3 separate regions of the Homo sapiens genome follow, and regions 1 and 2 are each linked to region 3. The links are contacts of gene promoters, found by promoter capture Hi-C in human tissues and cell types (Jung and others, 2019). All regions are on one chromosome and are shown on one strand. The core of a region is centred on a gene start or on the middle of the fragment in contact, and the rest is flanking DNA. Distances in the headings are between cores, read along the strand shown. Region 1 overlaps RECK (reversion inducing cysteine rich protein with kazal motifs). Region 2 overlaps RECK (reversion inducing cysteine rich protein with kazal motifs). Region 3 holds the start of OR2S2 (olfactory receptor family 2 subfamily S member 2).

Region 1 (3,541 bases), core at 721-3,220, 120 kb before region 3:
TATGTAACTCTATCTTTTTACCACTTTAATACTGCTGATTAGTCTGAGAGGGCTTAGGACATACACATAATGAGTTATAGGATTAACTTAATAGTTTCTTCATTTCTTACGTCAGCCTGTCTTGAAGTCTTAGCTAGTCAATTTTTAAGTCTTTCAAAAGTCTGCCATCTGACTTTTGAAAGGTAACTTTCTGACTTTTGGAGGTAACTGAGGGTTCGTATTCACTCCTATGGAGCCTCTTTTGACCTGCTTACCAATACCACACCCAATGTGCCCCCATATAACTGCTCCCTCTCCCTCCCCTACTCATGTTAGTCAAGAATAGGTCAAAACTATAGGGGTGCTGAGGTGAGGATCTACCATAACCTCAAAGATGCAAAGAACATGTCAGCATACTGGAGTTGACAGGGTCTCAAGAGAACTTCAAATCCAAAAGCTGTCACTATCTAGTTGGAGAGCCAGATATGTATAAGCAAGCAAAGGGCAGAGCCAGGGCTGGAACCCAGACTGCCCTGCCAGTGCTCTTCCATGACACTGCACTGAGAATAGTCTGGGTTGTTTTTCTCAATGCAGCCAATGCAAGGTTGAATGTTTGTTCACAGAGTAATCTATTTAACCAGTCCCCTATTTTTAAAATCAGCTCCTTAAATTGTAACCAAAAAAGGTCACCATTTTCTTGAGGTTAATATTATTTTCCTTAAAAATATTTTGATCCTAAAAAAATTATTTTTGATCCTAAAATCTTTCCTCTGGTAGCTGCTCTCAATAACTAGTTCCCTGCCCTACTCTCGCGATTAAATTCCTGAATATTTGACAATTAGTACTCCCAAGCTGGTAGATGTCAGCTCCAATATATTACTAGGTGGGGGTGTGTTAGGATGGATTCAGGAAGAGGGAATTCCAGGTAGTACAAGCCCTTTGATCCACTGTTGGGAGCATATGAACTGTGGGCAAACCTGGCACAAAAACAGAGTAAATCAAAGTTGAGGGAACCCTATGTGATCCTTCATGCCACACTGGTTTTCCTTTTGGTGGGGAAGACCCTTTGGGTGCACCTGGGAAGTAGACTCTGCTGGTCCAACCTCTAGCCCAGAAGTTCGCTCTGCAATTTATTTTCTGCCACTTCAGTGACCCTTTTCTATTGATTTTTAAAATAGGAAACTGGTTAAATAGATTAATCTATGAACAAACATTCAACCTTGCTTTGGGTGCATTCAGAAGAGAGAAATCCAAATAGTCCATTGCAATACAGTGAGACCAGACTATTCTCACAACGCAGTGTCATGGAAGAGCACTGGTAGGGCAGTCCGGGTTCTAGCCCTGGCTCTGCCCTTTGCTTGCTACGTATATCTGGCTGTCCAATTTGATTTGGCTTTTGGATTTGAAAAAAATGGTTCATTCCTCCATTTGTCCACTTGTTTCAATCCTTTCTCTGTCCACTGCCCTTTTACTACTGACTACTCCAGCTCTCTCTCATTTTCATCAATGATAAAGATGATGACAACAAAACACTGATCATATGAATCTTGTAAAAAAAAATTACAGGTTTGAATTTTGGATGATTTAGTTACTTTTGGACAAAGACCCAAAAGAGCACATTTTATTAACTGTTATGTTAATGTTTTATATGCCCAGTACTTTCTACTTAACTATGCTATTACTTAAAAGTAAAGGGGCTACTTTGTTTCTAAGGCCTCAATAAATAAAAATCTGTTTCCTTTTCACAGATGGGTTGAAATTTCTTCCAGTTTAAAGTTTCACATTTCATAGAAGAAATCCAGCTTATGAAATGCTAAGTAGGAGAGGTTAAATATAACTGTTCTTTAAAAACATAAATGTTTTTAAACCTCTACAAGGTGTTTTTTCCTTGTGGATACCATGAATGTCAAAAAGTATAGATGACTAGAATATGTAAGGAGTTTAATGTCATGACTTGGAAATATCACTAAACAAGTGATTATTAAATTTCTTCAGCCTTCCAAATAATGTGTCATTTCAACAGATATGCAAATAAAAATGAACACTCAAAACAGAAATGAGCTTTATAGGTCTAGACTGCTCAGAAAAATTTGCTCATTATCACCACAGGGCACCCAACCAGCTGGAAGCAAATTCACTGGCAAGTAACATCTGCAGAGAAACACAAGGTCTAGAAGACAGCCTAGCACAGAGTATGTGCTTGTGGTGAACTGACTACAGTAATGGCCCCAATTTTTCACATTTCCTTATATCTATTTATTGTACAGTAACTCTGGCCTTAGCCATGTGACTTGCCTTGCTTTGGCCTAGTGGACACTAGCAAGCTTGGAGTAAGCAGTTGCCCGAACTACACTTGCATGTTTCCACTTTCTCTCTTGGACTCCTGCCACCACCACGTGAACATGCCTGAGCTAGTCTGCTAAAGGGAGGGGAAAACATGGAGAAGATCTGAGCTGACTTAGCCAAGGGCTTCCTAAAGCAGGCAGCCCCAGGCTGACCTGCCATCTGATTGTAGACAGATGAGTGTGCCCAGCTGGAATCAGCTAAGCCTGGCCAGAGCAGAACTGCCTAGTAAGCCCTTAGATTTGTGAGAAATAATAAATTGTTACTGTTTTAAGCTATGGAGTTTTGGGATGGTTTACTATACAACATTATTGGGATAATAGATAGTACTCAGAATGAAAACATTCTCCACAGTACAGTAGAAAATGAGCACTTTCTCCATGCATTCCAAGAGTGTAAGACATTTACACAGAGTTTCCACGTAAAGCTGATATACTGTGTTACAAAGAACCTTGAATAATTCTGTTCTCCAGAGTGGGAAAAAGTCTATAAAATTTTTCTATCTATAAAAGTACTGACTGTAGCACTTTGTTACAGGCAACAGCTTTCTGCTCATCCTTTAAGTCTTACCTGCTCTGTGAAAGACTTCCCCATTTCCCTAGGCAGGGTTTTTTCCTCCAGGCTCCAATACATTCTAGCAATGTACTTGTCTCACTGTATTGTAATGGACTATTTGGATTTCTCTCTTCCCATGGACTATGAGCTTCTTGCAGACTAAATCCTTTCATTTTTGTACCCTGAGAACAATGCCTGATACATATTAAATATATTGGTTCAGTGTGTATCAGTTCAATGAATGTTAAGTGAATGAATGACAGAGACAAAGATAATTATATGAACTCTGTCCCAGGAACTCAGGGATTAGTTTAAAAAGAGACATGTAAACATAGTTATGCTATAGAGCGACAAATGCTATAATAAAGCATGCAAAGGGCTTGGAAGTAGTGATCAATTTTATGTGTGTGGAGAGAAGATGAATGGGCAGGAAAGGCTTTAAAGTGGTACCATTTAAACCAGGATTTAAGGCAAAGGTTACTCTAGTTCAATAGAGGTAATGATGTTCTGGAACCAGCTTTTTTTGTGGGGGGTGGTTGTGGAGAAAATCTGGATTTGCAGTATTTGCTGATGTTCACGCTGCAAATACCTCCACCCATGGCTGATTTTAAGTTACAAGCTGGCTTGCAAAATCCCTGAATATTTAACAAGCAGTACTCCCTAG
Region 2 (3,763 bases), core at 1,196-3,695, 92 kb before region 3:
TTATCCTGATAATGTCCTTTATAGCAATTTTCTTTCATTCCAGGATCCAATCCAGGATCACAAATTGCATTTTGTTGTCACATCTCTTTAGTTTCCTTTAATCTGTAACAGTTTCTTAGCCTTTCTTTGTTTTTATAACACTGACATTTTTAAAGAGTACAGGCGCTGATGTTTTGAGGAATATTCCTCAAACTGGGTTTGCCCGACTACTTCTTCATAATTCAAATTATGCAATTATAATATTTTCCTTCTCAGTGTATCATGTCAGCAGACAGTCACTTTGCCCCATTATTGGTGATGTGAACCCTGGACAATTAGTTAAGGTACTATCCAACAGACTTCTCCAAAAACAATTATACTTAATAAATAGTTGTATAACTAGTAGCCTCTATAATTTTATTTTTATTTTTTAGAGACAGGGGTCTTGCTATGTTGTCCTGGCTGGTCCTGAACCCCTGGCCTTAAGCAATCCTCCCACCCTGGCCTCCCAAAGTGCTGGGATTACAGGCATGAACCACTGTGTCTGGCTGCCTCTGTAATTATTATGTAATCTTACCTGTTCACATACATCACGGCACATTTGGTTATCCTTTGAATGATTACAACACAATGCACCTAGGGAGAAAAAATAAACATCAAATGTTGTTCCACTGTTAAACAAGATGACTAAGCTAATTCAGATGGTTACACAAACCATTTATTCAGTAGATGATGATTATTATTATTATTAATTTTAACTCAACAAACCTTTACTGAGCACCTATTACAAGTCAAGGACAGTGTTAGGTTTGAGGACATGGTCCCTGTCCTCAAGAAGCTTGCAGTCTAATAGGGGAGACTGTCATGTAATAATAATAGCTACTATTTAGTGTGTGCTTTCTATGTCCCAGAATTTGACTAAGTTTGTTGTATGCATTTTCTTATCTAATCCTTACAATTACCATATGGACTAGAGCTATTTTTAAACCAATAATAAAAAGTCAACTGATAAAAAGATAGTGAATTTTGTTTTGAGCATGTGAATCTGAGGTTCCTATAGAATATCCTGATGGAAATTCCAGTAAACTCAGAAATTCAGGCCTGGAGTGCAGGTAAAGCCAAGCCTAAAGATCCAAATTTGGAACTCATCAGCATAAAGGAGTATATGGAAATGAATGATATTGTCTAGGGAGAGTTTCTAGTGAGAAGAGAACATAGCATCAGATTCTAAAGAAGAGTAACATCTGAGATATGGAAAGAAAGGAAAGAGACTGAGATGGAATAGTCAGAAAGGCAGGTTAACCGTGAGAGTGGCATCACAGGAGGAGTAGTGTCATGCACCACAAGAGTCAAGTTAGACTGAAGAATGAAAAAAGGAAATGGGTTTACTAATTAGCCACTTGGTGAGCTTCACAGGTTCTTTCTGTGGAACTGGTAGAAGTGAATGATATTAAGGAGTAAACCACAGGTGAGTAAGTACAGACATCAAAAATAGAGTCATAAGAAGTCTAGCAACGATGGGAAGGAAACAAAGTAGTAATTATACAAAGATGCAAGGTTCCAAGATTTTTTCTCCCTTTTTCAGAGTGGAAAAGACTTGACCTTCTTTACAGACAGAAAAGAGCAGTAGAGAGCTAATGTTCCTCTGACAGAACAAGTCTCAAGAGGACTCCAAAGGGGATAAAACCAAGTGTTTATGAGAAGGCACTATCCCTGGAAAGAAACAGGGAATACTTCTTCTTCCAAGATATTTATCAACTTAAAAAAATTTTATGAGCAGCTTAAGTACTAGGCACTGATCATTCATTCAAAAAAACATAAGTCTGTTCTCTTGAAACTTAAAGAGCAGATATTAAACTATATATGTATATATACACATACATATATATATATGGAGACAGAGAGAGAGAATACGAATGTGAAATGGTGGTAAATGTTATGGCAATAATAAAACAAGTTAAAGAGTAAGGAGGATGTGTGTGTGGAAGTGAGTGGGTATTTTATAGGGCAGGCTAGGAAGGCTTCACTGAAAAGGTGTCACTCAAGCAGATACCATAAAGTAAGGGAACGAGCCACAATGAATTTTCCAAAAGGCAGAAACAGCAAGTGCAAAGTTTCTGGTGTGTTCAAAGAAGAGCAAAGAGTGTGGCTAGAAAAGAATGACTGAAGGGTAGAGTAGGACATAATGCGATCAGAGAGGGGGACCAGATCATACAGGTCTCTATAGGCCATGGTAAGAACTTTGGCTTTTACTCTGAGAAGGATGGAAAACCACCCACGGGTTTTGAGCAGCATGTCATAATCAGAATAACATTTTAAAAAGACCACTCTGGTTCCTGTGTTAAAAATATAATACACAGGAGTAAGGGAGGAAACACTAATAGGCTATTGAAGTAGTCTTGATAAGAGACTGTAGTGTCTTCAACTAGGGTGGCAGCAGTGGAGATGGTATTAAGTAGTCCGAATCTGGATATATTATGAATATAAAGCTGACAGGATATGCTAATGGATTGGAAGTGAAATATGGAAGAAAAAGAATTAAGAATGACTGTAAGGTTTTTGGTCCAAGAAAGTGGGAAAACAGAAATATCTAGAAATACCATTAACTGAAATGGAAAAGACTAAGGGAGGAGATCTCAGAGAGAGAGAGATGATCAGAAATTCAGTTTTAGATATAATTTTGAGATGCCTATTATATATCTAAAATAATATACTGAGTAGGGAGTTGAATATATGAGTTCGGGAAGACTCCAAACTGGAGATGGGAATTTGGGAGACACACTATGTAGATGATATTTAAAGCCATGATGGCATCTGGGGAAGGACAAGATCTGAGAACTGAGCAATGCATTCCCTCCTTCAGAGACAGGTGAGAACGGTCAATGTATGGGAAGATAATTAAGAGAAAGAATGGTGTCCAAAAAGCCAAATAAAATGTTTCAAGAAGATGTTAACCATGTTAGATACTGCTATCAAGTAATAAGGATTTCAAACTGATCACAGTACTTGGCAATGTGGAAGATATTGATGATGACCTTAAATAAATGTTATCAATGTGAAATAAAGGGCAAAAGCCTGACTGCAGTGAGTTCAAGAGACAATTCAAGAAAATACAGACAATTCTTTTGAGGAAGTCTACTTTTGAGCAGTTGTAGAACACTGTATAATAAATAATTTGACTGGCCTTTCTCCCTGGTTCCTGGGAGGGAGACTCTAAATCACCGGAATTTCCCGAGTAATAGGAGTGTCTTTGTTATGCTAACAAGGTGACCCATGGTCTCACCTATCAAGCTTGCCCAAACGGTGGCCCATGGGCTGCATGTGGCCCAGGCCCAGCTTTGAATGTGGTTCAACACAAGTTGGTAAACTTTCTTAAAACATTACGAGATTTTTTTTTTTTTGCATTAGTGTTAGTGTATTTTACATGTGGCATAAGACAATTCTTCCAGTGTGGCCCAGGGAAGCCAAAAGATTAGACACCCCTGACCTAGATAGTTTCAGGATGGAGGCTGGCAACACCAGAAAGAACAGCCATGTGTTTAAAGAGCTGGGGCTTTTAGCCACATGGTATCAACCTGATCTCCCAACTTCCAGGGATTGAAGGGGGATTGCAGATTGATCTCAACCATATGACCAATAATTCAATCAAGTATGCCTATGTAATGAAACCCCAATCAATACTCTGGACATAGAAGCTCAGTGGAGCTTTCCTGGTTGAACACATTGATGTACTGGGAAGATGATGCACCTGATTCCATAAGAGGACATAGAAGCTCTGCATTCC
Region 3 (3,753 bases), core at 1,089-3,588:
TCCACAGAGGCAGCTCTCAAGGAGGCCAAATCCCACGCATCATTCATGCCCACAGGATGTTATTCATGGATAGAAACTTCTGTGTGCATAGATTTATCTTGTGGGAATGCGCAGTGTGGCTTCCCTAACAGAAATCACTTTCCTTGGCCTCTGCAACCACAGCATCTGCTTGAATCTGGTTTGTGGCACTGAATATAATGTTTGCTTTTCTTCATTTTCTGGAGTGGGTGAGAGGTGCACTAGGAGGAACAGGAGATAAGCTGGGGTGGAAGTTCAGGGTGGGGCACTCAGAGGGGGTCAGCTTGCACTGAGCAACCAGGAACACCCTTCTGTGCTGTATGAAGGGATGGGAAGAGGGGAATAGGATTGCACAGGAAATACCTTGAGACCCATGGTTGTGTAATGGGGGAAGCTTCTCCTGGGTTAGACCAATCGTTCTCTTCTGGGTATAATTTTGCACCGTCCCCCCCGCCAACCCCCCCCCCCCCGCCCCAACACACACACCTTTCCCCTGGAAGCATGTGGCAGCGTCTGGAAACATTTTGATTGTTACAACTCAGGGTAGAAGGTGCTATTGGCAACTGATTGGTGGAGGTCAGAGACTCTGCTAAACATCCTACAATGCACAGGACAGCCCTCACACCAAAGGGTTATCCAGCACAAAATGTCAATCGTAAAGAATTTGAGAAACCCTGAGTTCCATTTAGGGTGGGAGGTGCACTGCCTGACAACACATCTGACATAAACCCTCCCCCATGACTGAAGAGAGAGTGTTGGACAGACAGTGAGACTGGCCAGAGAATACACAGAGCTAATTGAGATCATAACAGTGTGTACAAGTTTGACTTTGTCCTTTTAATTTATCATTATGCTATAGCAATATTAGCACAGAGAAAATTATAAATAGGACTATAAGATCTGTCTAATATTGGAGGGACAGAATCTTTTGCAAAGCTGTGCACCAAAAGAGAAAAGCAGCTGTTTCGTGAAAGAACTCAGGACTAGGTCTTGGAATCCAACTCCAGCTCTGCCATTCAACCCCAAGGAGCAAATTTATCTTCTGAGCTCCAGTTACTTCACCTGTAAAACCTGAATGATAATATCTTCTCCATGAGCTGTTTCAAGAAATATGGCACAGCTTATATTCCTTAATATTAGTGAGAATCCCTAATATTCTCACTAATATTAATATTAACCACTCATCTTCCATCATCCACCCACTCTTATACACACTCATAGAGCCACTGTCATTAAGAAGGAGCTATCAAAATATTATCTATGAGTACTTTGAATTTAGAGTCAGGGAAATTGCAAGTAAGAGACTAGATATCCTCTATACAAAGGCATATAAGTCTTCCTATAAGCCAGCTGCTTGCATAGAACTCAAGAATGGAGTCAGAGAGTCAGAAGATAATGCAAGAATAAAATGCAAACATAAAAGGACAAAGAAAAAACATTCTTAGTCATTCACGGTTAGGAATTTCACAGACATCCTAATGAGATGGGATCAGAAGTTAATGCCATATACTCTACTATCGATAACTATAGTTAGAGTGTGGTTATTAATATTGCATTAACTAACTGGTAAGCTACACAGTGTTGTCTCATGGTGTGAGTTCAGTCACTCCAACAAATCCATTTGTTGGCTTCATAAATTTCCCAGCTATAGGACCTCCCCATATATTGCAATAAATCCATATTTCAAATAGGCAGATCTATTCCTGTCAATGCTCAAGCCTGTGTCACTAGACTGAAGAAGTAATGCTCTTTATGGCTGAATATTAACTAGGCTTGTTTCTGTGTGAATATGGTTGAACAATTTTGCGCAATTTCCTCCCCACGTGTAATCAAAGTTTAAAGAAACTTAATCACTTGCTAGGTCCAAGAATTGCATCTTCTTGGGAATTTTCCTCTCTGAGAATCTAAGAAAGCCCAGATCAAATGAAATTGCTGTGGATTTGCATTAAAGAGAAATAATTCATAGCATTTCCTAGCACTTAATCACAATGAAGAGGAAAAGCCCTCCTTGGGCCAGGGATATGCTCTGCTGGGTTCAAGTCTTGTCTCTGTCACCAACTTGCTCAGAAGATTTGGACAGGTCACTTCTCCTCCCCAGGCCTCTATCACCTTTGTGGACACTGAGAGGGTGCAGCAACTTCAGAAAAATCCCTCATGCACAACCGGACATTTGAGGCCCTCACCCACTACCTGTCCAGCTCTGACCTTCTGTCTTCTAAGACACCCCCTACTGTCTCTTTCCGTCATTTTTCTCTTGCACAGATATGTTCTTCTATTATGCAATGGGAACTTGACCACATATTAGATGCCTAGGACTCTTCCCAAAAAGCCTGATGCGCTGCTCAGTACTTTGCTGATGGCAGAGGGGATATCACATGGAAAAAGCCAATGAGACCTCCCCTGTGATGGGGTTCGTTCTCCTGAGGCTCTCTGCCCACCCAGAGCTGGAAAAGACATTCTTCGTGCTCATCCTGCTGATGTACCTCGTGATCCTGCTGGGCAATGGGGTCCTCATCCTGGTGACCATCCTTGACTCCCGCCTGCACACGCCCATGTACTTCTTCCTAGGGAACCTCTCCTTCCTGGACATCTGCTTCACTACCTCCTCAGTCCCACTGGTCCTGGACAGCTTTTTGACTCCCCAGGAAACCATCTCCTTCTCAGCCTGTGCTGTGCAGATGGCACTCTCCTTTGCCATGGCAGGAACAGAGTGCTTGCTCCTGAGCATGATGGCATTTGATCGCTATGTGGCCATCTGCAACCCCCTTAGGTACTCCGTGATCATGAGCAAGGCTGCCTACATGCCCATGGCTGCCAGCTCCTGGGCTATTGGTGGTGCTGCTTCCGTGGTACACACATCCTTGGCAATTCAGCTGCCCTTCTGTGGAGACAATGTCATCAACCACTTCACCTGTGAGATTCTGGCTGTTCTAAAGTTGGCCTGTGCTGACATTTCCATCAATGTGATCAGCATGGAGGTGACGAATGTGATCTTCCTAGGAGTCCCGGTTCTGTTCATCTCTTTCTCCTATGTCTTCATCATCACCACCATCCTGAGGATCCCCTCAGCTGAGGGGAGGAAAAAGGTCTTCTCCACCTGCTCTGCCCACCTCACCGTGGTGATCGTCTTCTACGGGACCTTATTCTTCATGTATGGGAAGCCTAAGTCTAAGGACTCCATGGGAGCAGACAAAGAGGATCTTTCAGACAAACTCATCCCCCTTTTCTATGGGGTGGTGACCCCGATGCTCAACCCCATCATCTATAGCCTGAGGAACAAGGATGTGAAGGCTGCTGTGAGGAGACTGCTGAGACCAAAAGGCTTCACTCAGTGATGGTGGAAGGGTCCTCTGTGATTGTCACCCACATGGAAGTAAGGAATCACAATCACATCAGCTGCCATTCAAAAGCCAAGTCATGTGACCTATAATGGTTTCTCACTCTAAGTCCATTTGCAGGAGATATTAAACTTTTCAGACGATATCTCCTGAGTTTTAGTCCTATGTCTGACAGCTTCAACAGACACCAGACTCAATAAATAATCAACTGTGATGAAGGCATTCTGAACATACGGTAAAACCACACGAGACAGCAGCCATGAAAGCATGACGCATGGCCCTTAGAGTGTCTCAGCTCTAGAGTTAGAACAGGGACGTGAGAATGTTCTCACAGCAACTTACCAGCCCTACTGGATTCACCAGGGAAATCAGAGAAATAAGGAGGGAGTGGAAACTT

The links. The method cuts DNA at HindIII sites, captures the fragments that hold promoters and counts their contacts. A contact is called where the count stands out against the background at its distance.
Region 1: a contact is called between a fragment that was not itself captured here and the fragment with the promoter of OR2S2 in region 3, in 4 of the 25 tissues and cell types used here (IMR-90 fibroblasts, dorsolateral prefrontal cortex, lymphoblastoid cells and 1 more).
Region 2: a fragment that was not itself captured here is called in contact with the fragment with the promoter of OR2S2 in region 3 in 4 of the 25 tissues and cell types used here (lymphoblastoid cells, mesenchymal stem cells, spleen and 1 more).

Annotation. Positions count from the first base shown.
Region 1 is chr9:36,073,901-36,077,441 of GRCh38, reverse strand. All of the region lies in intron 6 of RECK (reversion inducing cysteine rich protein with kazal motifs), which reads right to left. Among named protein-coding and RNA genes, the nearest start is that of RECK, 39 kb to the right of the region's middle. The HindIII fragment of the contact is 8,058 bases long and covers 1-3,541 here.
Region 2 is chr9:36,049,117-36,052,879 of GRCh38, reverse strand. It overlaps RECK (reversion inducing cysteine rich protein with kazal motifs), which reads right to left. Exons shown (of 21, transcript NM_021111.3): 2 at 557-615. Among named protein-coding and RNA genes, the nearest start is that of RECK, 14 kb to the right of the region's middle. The HindIII fragment of the contact is 4,812 bases long and covers 40-3,763 here.
Region 3 is chr9:35,956,739-35,960,491 of GRCh38, reverse strand. It overlaps OR2S2 (olfactory receptor family 2 subfamily S member 2), which reads left to right and starts at 2,338. Exons shown (of 1, transcript NM_019897.2): 1 at 2,338-3,384. The coding sequence starts at 2,394. The coding sequence ends at 3,353. The HindIII fragment of the contact is 4,346 bases long and covers 1-3,753 here.